2 separate regions of the Homo sapiens genome follow, and region 1 is linked to region 2. The links are contacts of gene promoters, found by promoter capture Hi-C in blood cells and fetal thymus (Javierre and others, 2016). All regions are on one chromosome and are shown on one strand. The core of a region is centred on a gene start or on the middle of the fragment in contact, and the rest is flanking DNA. Distances in the headings are between cores, read along the strand shown. Region 1 overlaps TNFRSF8 (TNF receptor superfamily member 8). Region 2 holds the start of AADACL4 (arylacetamide deacetylase like 4).

What was found. The method cuts DNA at HindIII sites, captures the fragments that hold promoters and counts their contacts. A CHiCAGO score of 5 or more calls a contact.
Region 1: a fragment that was not itself captured here is called in contact with the fragment with the promoter of AADACL4 in region 2 in 7 of 17 cell types (activated CD4 T cells, naive CD8 T cells, total B cells and 4 more); the score reaches 8.1 in activated CD4 T cells.

Annotation. Positions count from the first base shown.
Region 1 is chr1:12,094,162-12,099,787 of GRCh38, reverse strand. It overlaps TNFRSF8 (TNF receptor superfamily member 8), which reads right to left. Exons shown (of 15, transcript NM_001243.5): 3 at 2,571-2,687. Among named protein-coding and RNA genes, the nearest start is that of TNFRSF8, 34 kb to the right of the region's middle. The HindIII fragment of the contact is 1,350 bases long and covers 1,889-3,238 here.
Region 2 is chr1:12,642,706-12,648,552 of GRCh38, reverse strand. It overlaps AADACL4 (arylacetamide deacetylase like 4), which reads right to left and starts at 4,468. Exons shown (of 4, transcript NM_001013630.2): 1 at 3,839-4,468. The coding sequence starts at 4,006. The HindIII fragment of the contact is 15,531 bases long and covers 1-5,847 here.

The DNA.
Region 1 (5,626 bases), core at 1,314-3,813, 550 kb after region 2:
AGAGTTGTAGCTTAGGAGCAAAAGGATCTGCCATAGAACCTAGGTGTGCAGTAGGCTACATCATGTAGGTGTGTGTAAGTACACTAATCTAGGATGCTTGCACAACGACAAAATTGCCTAATGACACGTTTGTCAGAATGTATTCCTGTCAATAAGCAATACATGACTATAATTTATATCCTCAGAGACACACAAAAAAATTGTAAGTTGGGTGCAGTAACATGCAAGTGCAGCCCCAGCTACTCGGGAGGCTGAGGCAGGAGGAACACTTAAGCCCTGGAGTTTAAGGCCAGCCTGGACAACAAAGTGAGACCCTGTCTTAAAATTTAAAGATAAGAAATTGGGCCGGGAATGGTGACTCACACCTGTAATCCCAACACTTTAGGAGGCCAAGGCGGCTGGATCACTTGAGGTCAGGAGTTTGAGACCAGCCTGGGCAACATGATGAAACCCCATCTCTTCTAAAAATACAAAAATTAGCCAGGCGTGGTGGTGCATCCCTGTAATCTCAGCTACTCAGGAGGCAGGAGAATCGCTCGAATCCAGGAGGTAGAGGTTGTAGTGAGCCGAGATTGCACCACTGCACTCCAGCCTGGGCGACAGAGTCAGACTCTGTCTCAAAAAGAAAAAAAAGAAAACAAAAATATAGGCAACAGACAAGCATCCTCAAACATGAAATAACAGAGAATATTGCAAAGACGAGCCCTTCTTGAAAAATCCACCTGACAGTGTAATCCAATCACTCAAATGATGAATCAAAGTGAAAAACTCAGGAACAGAGAAGCTGTGCCAAATAAACTCATCATGAATAATAAAAAATGTTAAGGCTAACATGCCAAGGGACTTATGGTTGCAGATGAGAATATAAACATTATAGATTATGACAAAGTAAAATTTGTGTAAGGAATAAAAGTCAGGAAGAGGATGAGGAGGTGGGAAAAATAATTACTTTGTTCTTCATTACAGGGAGTCAATCTATTCTCTACTGTCCAAAACTCAAACTAAGCAGATTTTGCCTTTACTGCAAGAGATAGTAGATTCTGAAATGATTATTAACCACTTACTGATTTTCATAACCTCCTTTCTTAATTTTAGAGGGTTTTTTTTTTTAAAGGAATTGCAGTATCTTTTGCTGAAGATACATTAATCTGACTGAGGTTTGGCATTCTTCTGTTTCACTTCGCTTTCTTTTTCTGATACTTTTGACTAAAATTAAATATTATCATTTTAATGCCATAAATATGTTGCCATTCTCTTAAAATTCCTTCTTTGTAAGTGTGTACAGGCTGTCTGGTTACTAACCTACCCATCTTTATACAGAGAGGTAGAGGCGTGTCAGCCATCTAATGATAATAGTAGTTATCTATAGATGGAGGGCTGGGGAGGGCAATGTTTGTTTTCTTCCTTACACTCTTTGTATTGCTTGAATTTTAAATAATAAATGTTTATAATTTTCATTTCATAAAATGCAGTCATTACTTTTAGAAATTCAAAGATACACCAGATAAATGCTAATAAAAAGAAAGAAGAAATGGCAATATTATTATTACTTTTCTTTCTTTTTAACCTTTGCTACTTCTTCCAGGAAGGAATAGCAATATTAATGCCAAACAAATGTGAAATTAAGGGAAAAGGCATTACAAGGAATGGAGAGGTATATTCATGTGGATAAAAAGCCCAACCCACCAAAAAAACATAACATTCATGAACATTTATGTACCTAATAACATAGCTTTGACATATATGAAGCAAAAATAGAAAGAACACAATGAAAATCTAATAGATGAACAAGTATACTGGGAGATAAGATTTTAACACATCTCTCAGAAATAAAGGTGATAAAAGTAAATAAGGGTACACATTATTTAAATAACACAATTAACAAGCTTAACTTAATAGATATGTAGAGAACTTTATACGCAACAAACAGAATACACATTTTAAAACACCCATACACTGAACACTCTGAAAATACATGATCATTTATTATTTATTAGACCACAAAAAGATCTCAACAAATTTCCCCCACCCTACCCCCCAAAAAAATCCACACAAAAATAAACACTAGATAGCACACAGACTGCATTCTCTAACCATAATAAGAGACTAACAATAAAAGGTCATACTGAAACAGTTTTCCTGGAAGTCCTGTGATCTTAGGAAAAGAACACAGCTCTTGGTGTCAGGCCACAACTCAAACTCCAGTTCTGCCACTTACCAGAGTTTTGTAACTTTGGAAAGGCCCTTAACCTCCCTATCCTCAAATTCCTCATTGTAAAGTAAGGATAAGCAAGAAATCCTCCCCTAGGGCTGTGGTGAGGATTAAACTCAAAAAAATGTGAGTCCTCTCCTTCAGGAAACATGTTAAGTCTCTGTGAAAGTATGGATGCAAAAGGTCATGGCTGATATCAAATCACAAATGCAGAGAGGTAAACTGAGGCACCAGGAGGACAATTCAGAGAACAGACATCAAATCATGATGCTCTCCACCTTCCAGATTCTTCACCTCTCCTCTGAGGACCCCTCATGCTCCCTAGAAGGAGGCCCTGGAGAGAGAACAAGGCCCTTACCTCGAGAACAAGTCACGCAGGCTGTACAGCGGTCGGCCTCATCCAGGTAGTAGTCAGGCTCACACTGCTTCCTGCAGTCAGTAGGCCTCTGTGGGCACTGCTGTGTCGGGAACAGCCCTGGGAAAAGAAACAGAGAAGCTCCAAGCCAGGCTGACTTAGCAAAGGCCTTATGACCCAATGCCCCACACCTCTCATCCCTGACGCCCCTCCCAGCTCCACCTCCAACCCCCGAAAACTGTCAGTCCAATTCTTGTGTTATGGATGGAAGCACTGACACCCAGGAGGGGCAACCCTCGCCTAAGGTCCCCTAGCAGGCAAGGAAAAGCAACATAGTTATAGAGAAGAGCTGGGCCTGGGATTCTAGGGCTGCCATTTGCCAATTGCGTGATAATGACCTTGTCAGCACTATTTGTGTGTGTGTGTGTGTGAGGGTACATAGTACGTGTATATATTTAGCACTATTAAGTTAGTAATAGGACCCACCTCCTAGTGTTCTTGAAAGGACTGAATGGACTGTGAAGATAAATATGTATAAAGTACTACAGCAGTCCCTGGCACCCAACAAGCACTATATGAGCACCGGTTGTCATCATTCTCTGCAGGGGTCTTATCTCACTGCAGGAATTAGGAGAGCCATAACTTTAGACCATGAAAGTCTAGACCAAGCTTGTCCAACCCACGACTAGCCGCATTCGGCCCAGGACAGCTCTGAATGAGGCCCAACGCAAACTCATAAACTTTCTTAAAACATTATGAGATTTGCGTGTGTGTGATTTTTTTTTTTTTTTTTTTTAGCTCATCAGCTATAAGCTAAAACACTATCCTTAGTGTTAGACTAAATTCACTTCTTCCACACTAACACTTCTTCTTCCAATGTGGCCCAGGGAAGCCGAAAGATTGGACACTCCTGCCACTAAGACCCTAATCCAGCCTGATTTCGAGATAAACAAGTCACCCAGCAATCGCTGCCTACCTTGCTTCCAGGATGAGCACATGACCCAAGCAGGCCAATCAGAATACTTCTTCCCATCAATATAATTGGCTCAGGATTGCCACATGACCCAAGCAGGCCAATCAGAGTACTCCATGTTCCTCACCACTGTGATTAGTTTAGTATGGGCACATGACCCAGGCATGCCAGCCAATAAGCCTCATCTCTGAGAGTTTCACAAAAGCAATCCAGAAAGATGTCCTCCGTTTATCTACTGGATTCCTGGCTGAAAGGGCTAGTTAAGCCCAGAGCTGCCCAGGTCATCACAGCCTGAGCGTGGGCATGGTGTGGGCAGGACTTGCCTAAGAAGGAGGTGACTCAGAAGCCAGCAGAAGCCAGAGTTGGAGAGAAATGGGCTCCTGAGGACATCGTTCAAACATCTGAATGTAGGGTGTCCATGGACTTCTCTGTTAGGGAGCCAATTATTTCTCTTTTGTCTTATTTGAGCCCTTCTGCCAGTTACAATGAAAATAGACCAGGGGGTTCCCAATATTTCTTGTGCCCCTAATCATTCTAAGGAAGCCTGTGGACACTGCACAGAATCATGAATTCATGAATAAAATATGCAGGAATGCAGAGGAATCCAACTACCTTGGAATATGGTTATCAAAGCATTAAACAAAATAACATATAGTAACAGGCCGGGTGCGGTGGCTCACGCCTGTAACCCCAACACTTTGGGAGGCCGAGGTGGGTGAATCACATAAGGTCAGGGGTTCAAGACCAGCCTGGCCAACGTGGTGAAACACCGTCTCTACTAAAAATACAAAAATTAGCTGGGTGTCGTGGCAGGCGCCTGTAATCCCAGCTACTGGGGAGGCTGAGGCAGGAGAATCACTTGAACCCGGGAGGCGGAGGTTGCAGTGAGCCGAGATCGTGCCATTGCACTCCAGCCTGGGCAACAGGAGCGAAACTCCATCTCAAAAAAAAAAAAAAAGATACAGTAACATGTGATTCTTTGTAAACTCATTAAATAATAGGGTAAAATAACTCCACAGTTTCAAAGCAATGATGAGCCCAGACAACATTTCACAACATCTGCAGCTACTGTAATATAATCTGAGAATATCTATGATTTCCGCTGAGGACAAAGCCGTGTACTACAATTACCACTGTGCTTTGTTGCCTTAATTCATAATGGGCGGAATTCATAAGTGAATTTTAGCTAGAAGCTAATTAAAATAATTGAATCCATTCAGGTTCATGAACCCTGTGAAATCTACCTTTGAGTCCATGGACCCCAGGGTAAGCACCTCTGCCCTAGAACAACACGCAAGAACCTCTCAAAAATACTAGCTTCGAGCCGGGTGCGGTGGGTCAAACCTGTAATCCCAGCACTTTCGGAGGCCGAGGCGCATGGATCATTTGAGGTCATAAGTTCAAGACCAGCCTGGCCAACATGGTGAAACCCCGTCTCTACTAAAAATACAAAAATTAGCCGGGCATGGTGGTACACTCCTGTAATCCCAGCTACTCAGGAGGCTGAGGCAGGAGAATTGCTTGAACCTGGTAGGCGGAGGTTGCAGTGAGCCGAGATCGCGTCACTGCACTCCAGCCTGGGCGATAGAGTGAGACTCCGTCTCAAAAAAAAAAAGCAAAAAAAAAAAAAAAAACTAGCTTCATGGCTGTCACTCTTTAACTCAGACACTTCAGTAGTTCCCCAGTAGTCTGAGAGGTAAATCTGACCCCTTCACTCCTTGCTGAAAACTTTCAAAGGCTTCTCATGGCTCCCAGGATGGGTCCTTACCATGGCTAGTGAGGTTCGGCTCACCTATGTCCCCCTTGCCCTCTGATCTCTAGCCACACTGGCATCTCCCTGTTCCCCAAAGGGGCAATGCTCCCTTCTGCCACCCCAGGGCCTTTGCACAAGCTGGTCCTCTGCCCCGAATGCTCCTCTCCCCTAGTAACTCCCACTCAGCCTTCACATCATGATCAAAGCATCACTGTCTCAGAGCCTTGGTCGTGATCCCCAATAAAAACAAAGACTCATTTCCTTGCCCTTCAACACCTAACTGTTGTAATCACACATTTATTTGTGAGCTCAATCTTCACAGTGTCTAAATTC
Region 2 (5,847 bases), core at 3,219-5,718:
CAGTGGTGCATGCCTGTGGTCCCAGCTGCTCAAGAGGCTGAGGTGGGAAAATTACTTGAACCCGGAAGATGGCGGTTGCAGTGAGCCAAGATCATGCCACTGCACTTCAGCCTGGGCGACAGAGTGAGACTCCATCTCAAAAAAAAGGAAAGAAGGAAAGAAAGGAAGGAAGGAAGGAAGGAAGGAAGGAAGGAAGGAAGGAAGGATCTGAGGTCCAGAATTTTAAATAGCTGTTGAAACTCCTTGACAAATATTGCATCATTTGCCCTTTAAAAGAAAAGCAGTCCGGCTGCGGTGGCTCATGCCTGCAATCCCAGCACTTTGGGAGGCCGAGGCAGGCGGATCACAAGGTCAGGAGATCAAGACCATCCTGGCTAACATGGTGAAACCCCATCTCTACTAAAAATACAAAAAATTAGCCAGGCGTGGTGGCACGCACCTGTAGTCCCAGCTACTCGGGAGGCTGAGGCAGGAGAATCGCTTGAACCTGGGAGGCAGAGGTTGCAGTGCAGTGAGCTGAGATTGCACAACTGCACTCCAGCCTGGGTGACAGAGCAAGACTCCATCTCAAAAACAAAAACAGAAAAGCGATAGTGGCTGGGCACAGTGGCTCATGTCTGTAATCCTAACAGTTTGGGAGGCCAAGGCAGGCGGATCTCTTGAGCCCAGGAGTTCAAGACCAGCCTAGGCAACATGGCAAAACCTGGTCTCTACAAAAAATACAAAAAAGTTATCTGGGCATGGTGGCAGGCGCCTATAGTCTTAGCTACTCAGGACGCTGAAGTGGGAGGATCACCTGAGCCCAGGAGGTCGAGGCTGCAGTAAGCCATGATTGTGCCACTGCACTTCAGCCTACATGGTAAGAGACTGAGACTGTCTCAAAAAAAAAAAAAGAAAGAAAGAAAGAAAAAGAAAAGCAATAGTGTTTGTTATATTACTGTTTATATATTTTAGTAAGGCTGAAATCATTCATAGCAACTTTTAAATCTATAATAATTTCAAGAAATGCTACATCTTTGCCTTCAGGGACTTGATAAGCATACTATGAATAATTGACTTTTATCGAGACTTTCTAAGCACCCAGCACTGGTGCTGTGCATTTTCAGTGCTTTTCTCATTTAATCCCCATGTCACCCTATAAAAAGCCTCCCCAGGGCCGTGCACAGTGGTTCATGCCTGTAATCCTAGCACTTTGGGAGGCCAAGGCAGGAGGATTGCTTGAATCCAGGAGTTTAAGATCAGCCTTGGCAACGTAGCAAGACCCCATCTGTACAAAATATCAAAAAATTAGCCAGGCGTGATGTGAAGGTGCACGCCTGTGGTCCGAGCTACATGGGAGGCTGAGGTGGGAGGATCACTTGAACCCAGGAGGTGGAGGCTGCAGTGAGCCGTGTTCACGCCACTGCACTCCTGCCTGGGTGACAGAGTGAGACCCTGTCTCAGAAAAAAAAAAAAAAAAAAATCCTCACTTTTCAGAGAAGAAAATAAAGGCACAAAAACATGAGTCCACAAAACGAGTAAGTGAGGGCTTCAGGGCTCAGAGGGTGGTCTGATACCGAAACAAAGCTCTTGATTTCCTGGCCATAGACTCTTTTTAGCTTTTTCCTTGTCCTCCCTAAACTTCTTGTTCCTGTGTTGTCTATCTGTCCTCTGGAACCGAATGAACATTCACTACTGTATGTCCTCATCCTCATCATCATCACCCCATGATGGGCAGTGTGCCCTGGGAGGCCCCAGTGCCGGAGGGATCGAGAGAGGACGCCACAAGCTGAATCCACCCTTTCAGCGGCTGCAGACCCATCTCAGAGTCCCCTGTGAACAGCCCATAGCAGCTGTCATCAGTAGATGTTTAGCTTGTGGGCTACTTTTGAGGAGAAACACTGACAGAAAAATCTCCATTTCTCTGGGCCACCTGAACATCTTAGGCCCTCGTTTTAAATCCTGGGGCTCTAACCCAACTAGTAACTCCATGTGGATTGCAGCCACTGGCTTGAGACTGCCTAATTCCAGGCTGATTGCATTCTCCAAATGAGAGGACACGAGTACTTTCTACATCCTTGTCCTGTCTCCTTGCGTCAGTGGCATTGATGCCACTGCACACTGAACTTGTCGGTGTCTCTAAAAGTGATCTTTTAGAAAATGTTTTTGTAACCCATGGGGAACACTTCCAGCAGCACAGAGATGTATTTTACGAATTCACTAAACATCTCTAGACATATTAACCCTCCCAGATGAGGAAACTGAGACACAGAGAGGTTAAGTAAATGGTGCAGGACCGCACAGCGAGTGAGTGACAGAGCTGGGACACACACTCAGGCAGTCCGGCTGCTGTCTCTGTTCCTTATTCCTAAGCCCTGCTGTCAGTTAAGCGTGGCCTCCTCATCCTCCTCCACAGCTGCCCTGGAATCAGTAGGAGCTGTTTGGCTTCTATAAGGTCTCCACCTAGGGTTGGGACATTGGGGTTAACTCAGGTTGCCTGCCACAAACAAGATGTCACACCACTGTTTCCAAATCCACTGCAACTCTGGGTGCATGCTGGTCCACCCCAAACCCCCAATCCCCAAGCCCTGCTCAGAGCCTGGCTGGCACGGCCACTCAGAAATGCTGGGTAAATTCATGTATACCAACAAAAGTAAGCACCTACCAGATACCAGGCTCTGTGAGTGGGACTGGGCTTACAGAGATGAATAAGGAAAAAAACACCTGTGAAGCTAGGTGCAGTGGCTCACACCTGCAATCCCTACACTTTGGGAGGCCAAGGCGGGCAGATTGCTTGAGCCCAGGAGTTCTAGACCAGCCTGGGCAACATAGCGAAACCCTGTCTCTACCAAAAGTACAAAAATTAGCCGGGCATGGTGGTGCGCACCTGTAGTCCCAGCTACTTGGGAGGCTGAGATGGAAAGGATCGCTTGAGCCCAGGAGGTTGAGGCTGCACTGAGCCATGATTGCACCACTGCACTCCAGCCTGGGCAACAGAGCAAGACCCCGTCTCAAAAAAGTAAAATAAAATAGAAACAACCTATAGGTAAGTCAGTGCACTGAGGGTGAAAGTGTGCGCGGCTGAAGGAGGGGCAGGGGCTGTCAGGCCACAAGCCCGGGGAAGGCAGGAACTGGGTCTGAAATTGTTTTTGAATTCTCAGAAAAGAGCCCAGTGATTGGCACTCGGTAAATGTTTGATGCTAAAGGAAGAAAGGAAGGGAGTTAGAGAGAGCAGGAGAGAGGAAGGAAGAACGGAACAAAAGGAGGGAAGGAAGGAAGGTAGGAAGGAAACAAGGAAGGAAGGGAGGGAGGGAGGGAGGGAGGGAGGAGGGAAGGAAGAAAGGAGATAGGGAGGAAGGAAGAAGGGAAAGAAGAAAGGAAGGAGGGAGGGAAGGAAGGAGATAGGAAGAGAGAGAATGAAGGAAGGAGGGAAGGAGGAAGGAAGGAGGGAGGGAGAGAAAGAAAGAAGGAAAAAGGAAGGAAAGGAGCGGAGAAGGAGGGAAGGAAGGAAGGGAGGGAGGGAATGAAGGAGATAGGGAGGAAGGGAGAGAATGAGGGAAGGAGGAAGGAGAGGGAAGGAGGGAAGGAAAGAAGGAAAAAAGAAAGGAAAGGAGGGAGAGAAGGAGGGAAGGAAGGGAGGGAGAGAGGAAGAAAGGCAGGCAGGCTATGGGAAGGGGGAAGGAACGGAGGGAGGGAAGAGAGAGGCAAACAGAATAGCAGATACAGAAGAGACAAGTCTATCTTGAGGGAGTCCGAAGAGAGAGAGACAGAAGGGAAGTGAAAGAGGGAAAAGAGGGTAAGGTACTGAGAACAAGAGAAGAAGCCCCCAGGTTACGACGTGGCCTGAGAGTAAACTCACCAAAGTGACCAGGTAGAGGAATATGCAATGCAGGAATCTCAACTTGGCAGGATGCTGCAAGGTAGCAGGGATATCCGTGGTGAGGAAGTGCTCAAAGACAGCCCAGACAAAGACCCCCAGGAAAAAGATGGGCAATGCCAAGAGTAGCACTAGCCAGGGGACAGCCATGTTCCTGGGGCCTTGAGGAGCTGCTGCCCTGAGGAGCTTGTCTGATAGCTTATGTGAAGAGGACCTGGCTGGGTTACACCCTCCGCCTCCTCCACCTCACTCTCTCTGGGCTAAGCCTGACACCTGACACAGTGGCCTGACACAGCTTCTCAGGGTAAGCACAAAAAGGCCAATGGGAGGTGGAGGAACCTATTTCCCTAAGCAATGTGGGGACCCAGAAAAATCAATACTGCTCATCATGGGGAGTCTTGGAAGGTGAGCTTCCCAAAGATTTCAGGAAGATCAGGCTCAGATGGGCACCTCGGCTCCTGGGAACCCTAGAAAGAGATCTCATATGGGTTATATAGGCCTCCAGGGCCTGATCTTTCAACTGTAAGATAAGAGACTTCGCCAGCTTTCCTTGTCAGAGTGTGGTTAGGGTGAGCACAGCACGTCTCACCCCAGCTCCCTAGCTAGCTTCCCTAACCCCAGTTTTGTTTTGTTTTTTGAAACAAGGTCTCACTCTGTCACCGCCTATGTACCCTCTGGGCCTCTGGCCAGATCAGGGCAAAGACTGGCGTGTTTTCTGGTAGTCATAATCTTCTGGGGTCCTGGGACGGGAGACAGGAATGCCATTGCAGGCAAAACTGGGCTTTATCCAGCCTCATATTCCGCCTCTAAAAATGGTGCCAAGGGCTGGTTTGGGGACAATTTTTATCCACGTTACTTTCTTCTAAGAGAGAAAGAAATGATTGGAACCATTTCAGGAAATAGGCTTTGAGCCTGAAAATTTTAGAAATTTTAATTTGGGCCGAGCACGGTGGTAATCCCACCTGTAATCTCAGCACTTTGGGAGGCTGAGCTGGGAGGATCACTTGAGGCCAGGAGTTCAAGACCAGCCTGGCCAACAGGGTGAAACCCCCTCTCTACCAAAACTACAAAAATTAGCCGGGCATGGTGGCACATGCCTGTAATCCCAGCTACTCGGGAGGCTGAAGCTGGAGAATCGCTTGAACCTGGGAGCTGGAGGTTGCAGTGAGCCGAGATCGCACTACTGCACTCCAGCCTGGGCAACAGAACGAGACTCTGTCTCAAAAAAAAAAAAAAAAAAAAAAAAAAGGGAGAATATAGAAACTATACATATAAGAAAATACCACTACCCTTAGGGCTTAAATAGAGCACCCAAGAAAGACCCCGTTTCCACCCATAGGGATGAGACCCAGCTCTTGTTGGAAAGGGCATAGTGTGAATTTGCTGAACTGGCAAAGAAGTTGCTCAACTGCTACACCAGGGGGACTCACTGGTGTCTTCCTCTTGACACACACACTCAACAAATTTGCTGAAAATCTGCTCCCTTGGGTGCTAGGGAAAGCCATTTATTCACAGGGAGGTGTTTTACTGGAGGCACTCTGAAGTGAAACCACCCAAGGGGACTGGAAGGGAAAGTTATTAACCTCCGAGTGCTGCAGGAGCTTGGAACTAGAAGGCAGACCCCCTTTTTCATTCCTATTATTTATGTTTTAGGTTTTTGGTTTTTTGTTTGTTTGTTTGGTTTGTTTCAGAAAACAAAAGTTATAGAAGAGGCTTTACCCCAGTGAGTATATGCATGGCAGATTTTTGTGTTTTTACGTCATTGTATCTTTGTAAGAGTTTACTTAGGTTTCTCTTAGAGGGTTATAAGATTCACTATTCTGGCTAGGTGTAATTATCTTTTGTCGTTGTTGTTTGTTTGTTTGTTTTTTGTTTTTTTTTTTGAGATGGAGTCTCGCTCTGTCACCCAGGCTGGAGTGCAGTGGTGTGATCTCAGCTCACTGCAAGCTCCGCCTCCCAGGTTCACGCCATTCTCCTGCCTCAGCCTCCGG